Linked DNA regions of Homo sapiens: regions 1 and 2 are each linked to region 3. Evidence: promoter capture Hi-C in 16 types of primary human blood cells and fetal thymus (Javierre and others, 2016). All regions are on one chromosome and are shown on one strand. Each heading gives the region's core, a stretch centred on a gene start or on the middle of the fragment in contact. The rest is flanking DNA. Distances are from core to core; before and after follow the strand shown. Region 1 has its middle 64 kb from the start of HTR4. Region 2 has its middle 85 kb from the start of HTR4. Region 3 holds the start of SPINK6 (serine peptidase inhibitor Kazal type 6).

The links. The method cuts DNA at HindIII sites, captures the fragments that hold promoters and counts their contacts. A CHiCAGO score of 5 or more calls a contact.
Region 1: a fragment that was not itself captured here is called in contact with the fragment with the promoter of SPINK6 in region 3 in 7 of 17 cell types (endothelial precursors, M0 macrophages, megakaryocytes and 4 more); the score reaches 8.5 in endothelial precursors.
Region 2: a contact is called between a fragment that was not itself captured here and the fragment with the promoter of SPINK6 in region 3, in 1 of 17 cell types (M1 macrophages). The highest score is 6.1, in M1 macrophages.

The regions. Positions count from the first base shown.
Region 1 is chr5:148,717,236-148,719,935 of GRCh38, reverse strand. No RefSeq gene overlaps it. Among named protein-coding and RNA genes, the nearest start is that of HTR4, 64 kb to the right of the region's middle. RefSeq lists an enhancer at 1-413. The HindIII fragment of the contact is 1,112 bases long and covers 697-1,808 here.
Region 2 is chr5:148,738,351-148,741,050 of GRCh38, reverse strand. No RefSeq gene overlaps it. Among named protein-coding and RNA genes, the nearest start is that of HTR4, 85 kb to the right of the region's middle. The HindIII fragment of the contact is 1,312 bases long and covers 694-2,005 here.
Region 3 is chr5:148,201,720-148,204,419 of GRCh38, reverse strand. It overlaps SPINK6 (serine peptidase inhibitor Kazal type 6), which reads right to left and starts at 1,378. Exons shown (of 4, transcript NM_205841.4): 1 at 1,266-1,378. The coding sequence starts at 1,323. The HindIII fragment of the contact is 4,979 bases long and covers 151-2,700 here.

The DNA of each region.
Region 1 (2,700 bases), core at 3-2,502, 520 kb before region 3:
GACTTCAACAACTGCCTGCTTAACTACATGTCCATTACTAGCCCCCTGTGTTCTCTTAAAGTCCAGACCTGTATCACAGAGGCGTCTTCCTACAGTCATCATTTGACTGGTAGGGGGCTTAATTAATTAGCATTTGTAAGATGTCTCCAGCCCGTTAGTGGATTAGAGGTAATTTGGAAAGCAGCGCCAAGAGCTTTCTATTACCTTCCTCTCTGCTGGTCTCTTTTCCTGCTTCTGGAGTAACTGGCATTGATGTTGACTCAAATGAACTTAAACTTGTTATCCTGTCTCATTTGATTTTTCATTAAATAGATTCCAAAGTATCCCAGAAACACTTTACAATGATCAGTCATTTCTCCTACAGACTAAACAAATTCAATGTTAATGAATAATGCAGTTTTATAATTGCACAAAGGGTGAAGTGTTTGAAACCACAGATAAAATATCTTGGATTCTTAGAGTTTTCTTTTATAAAAACCCTTCTCCTGTAGCCAACTTGGACATCATAGCTCTCCCATGACCGCCACCTAGTAATCCCTTCCTCACACTTAATGAACGCTTCCTTGACAGTCATAGAATTTAAATGTTTTGTTCTTTTTTTCATACCTTGATTGAATATTTTTTGTTCTGTTCTTATTTAGCCACACAGAGAATGATGCAATTAGGAAATACATTTGGGGGCTAATAAGGAAAGCTTGAACCAATACGGTTTAACAAGATGAAGGTTTGTTTTTTCTCATATACAGGTAGTCTGTAGGTTGACTTTCTATAGTTGTAGAAGTGGTTCTAGGATACCACCTATGTCCTAGACTGCTATCTTTTTATTCTGTCGTCATTAACATGTGACTTCCAACTTCAAGGAGCAAGACAGACAAAGTAGCTCCAGATATCAAGTCTTTATTCCGGGCAGGAAGAGGGAGGAAATATGGAAAAACAAAAAAGAGCCTCTTACCCTTCCTGAAAGCCTTATCCAGAACTTAGTTACCTGGCCACTGCTATCTTAAAATGAGGCTGAAAAAAGTAATTTTGTATCAGTGCACACCGATATCCCTGACAAAACTAGGTTTCTATTCTGAAGGAGGAAGGGAAAATGGGCATGAAATTGGTAATTATCAGCTTTTGCCACACAGCACTTTTTGACAGTATGTCTTAATAATCCTTAAGTCAATAATAAGTTACAAAAATAAGTGAAATACACACCTACCCCAGTGGTCATGGGCCTTTTGGGGTGCTAGATGACTTAATAGAGTACAGAGATCATTTTATCTGGAAGAATATTAATAAATCGTTATTTGCCACATGGTACCCAGCAATGACAAAAAGTAGATGCAAAGGGAGAAAACTTTTTAAAATCTTTATTAGCGTAGCGGAAATACTAACTTTCCTAGGCTTCTTCCTGCAGGTTCACCTGCAATTACTCTGAAGCAAAAGGGACTGGTGTTCCTTGTCCAAGAGCCCTGTCTAATCTATTATTCTTCTAGTTGGATTTTTGTTAGCTACTATATGTTCTGTACCATATTAAAGGTGGGTTGCTTCATGAGTTAAATATAAATAGGACAGCACCCCAACAGGGGAAGCAGAAGGCCACAGTGGGATTCTAAATTTGTGTCAACAACAACAACAATAACAAAACAAATGATACTTGTTGTGCAACTATCTAGCCATTGGCCATTTTCAAAATCTTTCTGCCTTAGGGAGATAATGACAGATTATTTGGGGTTGGAGGCAGTGTAGGGAAGAGATGGATAGGAGAAGACTAGGCAATTTTCTGAGTTTAGTGTAAGAAAAATGCCCAGTAGATAGAAGCTTAGCAGGTATTCAGTCAATGCTCGTTTCCTGTACCCTTTGTGATTCTGGAGCTAAGAAGTTTAGAAACTACCAGGGAGTTAAGTTCATGAAAGCATTTCATCTCCACTAAATTTTGTACCATCATCCAGAAGTAATGAAGCAAAATTGCTGAGATCCTTTTCACACCAGGGATTAGAAAACCTTTTCTCTGCCATCCTTTAGTGGCTTACTATGTAGCATTTGTGGCTTAGATCTTACCCAGAAACTACTTCCATCAGCAAAATACAGCATCCTGCGATCCTGTCACCTACTTTTTGCCTTCTCTTGGCTCTAACAGATGTTGTTTTCAGGGAGCCAGAAACAGAACCAATGTATCCTTTGATTCACTTAAGATTGCGGTTCAAGTTTGCGGAGATGCCATTTTTCCAGTAAGGTCTCTTCATTTGTTTTAGTCTGTTCTCACACTGCTATAAAGAACTACCTAAGATTGGGTAATTTATGAAAAAAAGAGGTTTAATTGACTCATAGTTCTGCAGGCTTAACAGGAAGCATGACTGGGAGGCCTTGGGAAATTTACAATCATGGCAGAAGGTGAAGGGGAAGCAAGCACCTTCTTCACATGGCAGAGCAGGAGAGGCAGAAGGTGAAGGGAAAGCAAGCACCTTCTTCACATGGCAGAGCAGGAGAGACAGAGAGTGAAGGAGGAAGTGTCACATACTTTTAAACCATCAGATCTCCTGAGAACTCACTATCACAAGAACAGCAAGGGGGAAATCGCCCTCATGATCCCGTTACCTCTTACCAGGTCCTTCCTTCAGTATGACATGAGATTTGTGCAGGGACACAAATCCAAACAATATAATTCTACCCCTTGCTTCTCCCAAATCTCATGTCCTTCTCACGTTGCAAAAT
Region 2 (2,700 bases), core at 100-2,599, 540 kb before region 3:
TCTGGGACAGTCACGAGATTTGGCTGCTGCTGCTGGTATTCTTGCATTTCAACAATTGGCTGGAGCTGAGAAGCAGCTGCCCCTTTAGACGCAGCTACTCTGTCAGACCCACATTGGCTGTTCTGTCCACTCACTTATTTCAGTTTGATCTCTTTTCCGAGATATCCAGGCATTTGGTGGATTTTGATTCTCCATGTTTATTCCTAAGGAAACTTATCTCCAAATCTCTCCAATCTTTCTTCCAACAAAGCCCAGTTTCCAGAAGAAGTAATTATAACTGCACAATTATCAAGGGCATAATATATTTCTTGATAACCCTGACATAAATTAAGGGCCATTTATTTGTCTGGGTTTCTGTTCCTGTTAAAAATAATCTCTTTGCTCAATGTCCCACACTTGGTTATTTTCCTTCCTCTTTGCTTGGTGAAACAGAAGGCTCTTTTAGAGATTTTGACTGTTTCTCATTATTATTTATCCAACAGATACTTAATGAGCACTTCCTAAGTGCCCGGACCTCTGCTTCATGTGAGAGATGTATCTGAGAAGGGGACGGACATGCACCTAACGGTGCCAGCGATGTGGCCATTATGAAAGATCGTGATGTTGTAGGAACATACAGAAGGAACACTGTGCCTAATATGGGGATGGGAATAGGATCGAGGGGATGTTCCTAGAAAAATTAATGTTGAAGCTTAGACCTTGAGATAAGTAGTGATTTGCCAAGGAGGGAGAACCTTGCACAAATGCCCAGACCAGATTCGAGAGAGTCATGGGGCATGGAGAGGAACTGAATAGTGTCCTTGAGCTCTGCCGAGGAGCACAGACTTTATCTGGAGGGTAACAAGGAGCAAAGAGAGCTTATGAGCAAGGGAGTGAATATTTAGGTCTGTGTTTTTAGAACATCACTCCATCTCTTAAAACTTATTTTAGGAGACTTGGCTGAGAGCTAGGGCTCTCATTCCTTTAGACACTTTCTAGTTCAGTTTTATAAGGGACAAGTTTATTCTGAAGGACTCCAGGAGAGGCACCATCAACATCCTCACAGTGCTGCTGTGCTGGCTGTTGCTTCGCCCCTGGGGCCTCTCTTGTTTTGCCCTTTAGATTCTTGTTGTTTTTGCCCCACTTTCCTTGTAGATATCTCTTGTTTTCTCTGTAGTTCCCTCATCGCTTTCCACGTAATTAAGGCATCTTCCTGGAGCTACTGAGGGTTTGTGGTTGCCTGGAGAACCACAGCAACAATGTCATGAGCTCCCCCACCCATCCCAGGGAGCCCTGGGATCAAAAAGTCAGCTTCAAAGCCTAGTTGGAAGTAGTCAATGCAAAGCCAAAAGTCAACAAACATTTCTCCAGAGTCTTGGCACCAGAAGGCCTTTCTCTTGTTCCTTTTACTCAATTCCCAGCTGGTTAGCAGCCTGAACTTCTGCCTACCATCCCCTTCCATGGCAGCTCCCAACTGTGCTGTAAGATTATTGAGGGAGGCTAGGAATAGAGACTTAATACTGAGAAGACACTTAAGCACTTGATCCAATCCAATTCCCTATTTTATCAAGAATACCGTCCTGCTTCCTGACTTCCTGACTTTTGAAATGAGCTAGTATGGGTGCCTGACACTGCTGGTTCTGGTTTGAGCACATACAGTCACTGACTACGTGGACTCAGGAAACTATTTCACTTCTTTGGGCCCTGGTTTCCTTTTCTGTAAAGTGAGAATAATAATCCCTGCACTGCCTACTTCACAGGGTTATTTTGAGGAGGAGAAAATGACTCTATAGTTGCATTCAATCATTTACGAAAACATATATTGATTACTCAGCCATGTGCCAGCTAAAGGGGGATGAAAGCTCCTGTTAAACTGTAACGTGTTACACAAATATCACATTCTCAGATGTAGAAAACTCATTATCGACTGGGTCAGACTGGGTGTGTTTGTCCTGCTTCCCTCACCTGTCTTGCCTCCAGTTAGGTTCTTGGGTATTGCCCGCATGTAAACATTCAAGGCAAAGCTTTAGCAAGAAACCTAATACATAGAAAGTATTGACTAGCATTAGAAAGAGCTATGGTGACAAGGCCTCTGTGTATTTGAAAGCTTCATTAAGTCCCGCTGCAGACGGCCATATGTGATAGGATGGTATATCACACTTTTCCTATTATTCCAGTATTGACAAGTAGAACCCCAAACAATGGACAAAGAGGATCTAGTGCCACATTCTAAAGATTGCCAGCAATAGCTGGAGCCAGAACACTGTTCCCCCCACAAATCCCCAGGGCTTCTTAAAAGTCAAAACTGGCCCTGCTACCATGAGCCTTTCCGCTTTCTCCTCCCTCCTTCTTTCTAGGCTATGTAAGCAGACGTCTAGGAAAGGAGGAAAGGGAGGGAGAAGGAGTCATTACAGGAGTCAGACTGTAGGGAGGAAAGTGTTCATGGAAGGATCTATAGGGTTTAAAATCCCAATGGGAAAGAGATGGGATCCTCAAATTAGAACAATTCAGAGACGGTTTGCTTGTAAGGAGGAGGCACAAAGGCTGATGCAGTCACCCAGGGGTAGTGGCAGCAGAGGTGTTTCTAATTCTAAGCCCAAAGGGACGAAAGGAGGGAACTGCATTAAGAACCAGAAGGAGAGAGCCATCTTCAAATCTTTTAGAAATATTTTCCAGTGGTCAGGCAAGAGATAATGGTGGCCCTAATATAGAACTGTCAGG
Region 3 (2,700 bases), core at 129-2,628:
CACCTTTGTAAAGAGAAGAAAAGGAAATAACAATTGATTTCTGAGACTATCTTTGCAGCTAAACTTTACATAGTCAGATATATATTTTTCTGCCATCTCAGCAACTGATTGAACTACCCATTAAGGTTATTTGGCTTTAGTAGTCAAGCTTACTCCATAATATCACAGGAATCCTTTACCCATTTTTTTTGTATTTCTAAGTGTATTTGTTTTTGTAATTATGACCAGCTACAGTGAACACTGGCTTCTCTATCAGCTAAATCTCATTGATTTTTTTTTTACTTGTACATCCATTTAAAATCTTGCATAGTAGTAAAATTCATCTGCTACTGTCACACAAAATGATACATAAGATATGGAAGGTCCCAGGGCTTAGTTTTATTTCTATTATTTTACAAATGACAAAATATCTCAGAAAATTATGTTATTTCTTTAAGTGACACAGGCCATTAATAGAAGAGATGAAACTAGGTCTTAGGTCTAAAAACTAGCATTTGCTTTGTGCCCTACAACGTGAAAGAGTAGAATAATAAGGAAGAAAATAGCTTATGATGGACCTGCTCATTCCGATGGTTCTGTCTTAAAAAACATAACCTTGAAGTATGATTGTGCTTTGAACCTCACTAAAGTGTCCAAAGATATTCTCCTTCTCTAAGATTATTTAGCTCACCAGAAACATATGTTTCTGCATTCTAAGTTTCAATTACATATTTTCAAAGATTTTTCTCATTGAGTTTCCAATTTCCCCATTGTCTTAATTTAATTATTTGAATGTCTTTGTAATAATAACTAAGGGGAGGAAAATATTTCTTTGTTCTGGAAAGCAAAACCAATATTTAATGCAATTATCCATCCTCCAATCTAGTTTTATGGAACAAACATTAAATGTGATGGCAAGAGAATCTGATTCAAATTCCAGATTCTAACTACTAGTTGCAAGTCTTTTGCTGATTTTCTCAATTTCTCTGTTCCACAGTTTCTTATATGAAGAACAGAGATAGAAATACCTTATTATGAGTCTCAGAGACAATACATAAAATCCCTTCGTACATGCCTAGAATATAGTATATGCTCAACAAATCACAGTAATTTTAATAATTATTACCATAACCATTGTCGTCATCACAATCATTATCATCATTATGATAATCTCTCAGAATTGGTCTTTTACATCAAAATCATTAGGATTTAAAATATGATAAACAACTACTCATCATATCCAGTTCAGTATAAATATGGGATCTTAATTTTAAGAAAAAACTTACCTGTTAAAAAGCAGAAAAGAGCCAGAGAGAGGAGCAGAAACATGCCTGACAGTTTCATTGTGTCAGTTAGCTCACTCAGATCAAGGCTGCTTTGTCCAGCTGAGGTTCTCTGTCAAGACAATTCCCAGAAAGCCCTAAAATACATTCAGACCACATGAGTCCTATGCAGTTTATGCATTTAATGGGGCCTGCCAACACATTAAAAAAATGCTTCATGCTCCCCATCAATCTTAAAAATTGGGACAATTATGTGTGTCGCACCTCAGATCTTATTAATAGAGAATGTCATTTTCTACTGGTAGCCTACATTTTCCTAACAACCAATACATCCTCCCGGCTCTTCTTTCTAAAGTTTCACTACATTATAGGGATGATTCACTGGTTGACTTCCACTTGATTCTTATATTTCTTTCAGACAGGTCCTACATGTCTGTGGTCCAAGTGAGTAACCACAGGATAATGGAATCTTGGGTGTAACTTGGATTTTTAGAGTCCAGATCATCCAAGGTGTACCTAAAGGAGACAGATATTCCACACTGTAGCTAGAACTGCATTAGAAGAAGCATTTTCTGAGCAGGAATCAGCTTATTAATTTTTAAATCATTATAGCAGTCAAATGCCAGTGGTTGTCCAGTTTTGAGTCAAAATAAATAGGGAAGTCAATTATTTTCTTTAATTTGTAACAAAAATTTGTTTTTTAAAGTTACTGAATTTAATTTTCTTTTTTTTTTTTCTTTCTTTTTTTTTTTTTTTTTTGAGATGGAGTCTTTCTCTGTTGCCCAGGCTGGAGTGCAGTGGTGCAATCTTAGCTTACTGCAGTCTCTGCCTCCCGGGTTCAAGCGATTCTCCTGCCTCAGCCTCCCGAGTAGCTGGGACTACAGGTGCCTGCCACCATGCCTGGCTAATTTTTGTATTCTTAGTAGAGACGGGGTTTCACCATGTTGGCCAGGCTGGTCTCAAACTCCTGACCTCATGATCCGCCTGCCTCGGCCTTCCAAAGTGCTGGGATTATAGGCGTGAACCACTGTGCCTGGCCTGAATTGAATTTTTGAAATGAGCAATATATTTCCTTTTACTTTTCATATAAAAGTTAGATGAATCACATTATCTTTCATGGCCAATTTAATTGCAAGATAGATCAAAGAGTGCGATGCCACAACCTTCTTTCAGGAAACAGCAACAAAAAAGAATGGTTGTAGTGATAACAAGAACGTCTACCTCAAATCATAAACTGCTATTGAAAATATCATGAGGGAAATCATCTTAAAGTCCTTTACAGAAAGATGTAGGTCAGATGTTAAAAGTATTCAAAGACACTACTGAAAAACCTTAAAAACTATATTTAAAATTTTCTTGAATCCTTTATGGGAAGAGGAGTCAAAATAGCTAGAAAAACAAAATATATGGGAAATTGCTTAAGTCATGAAATTTAAAA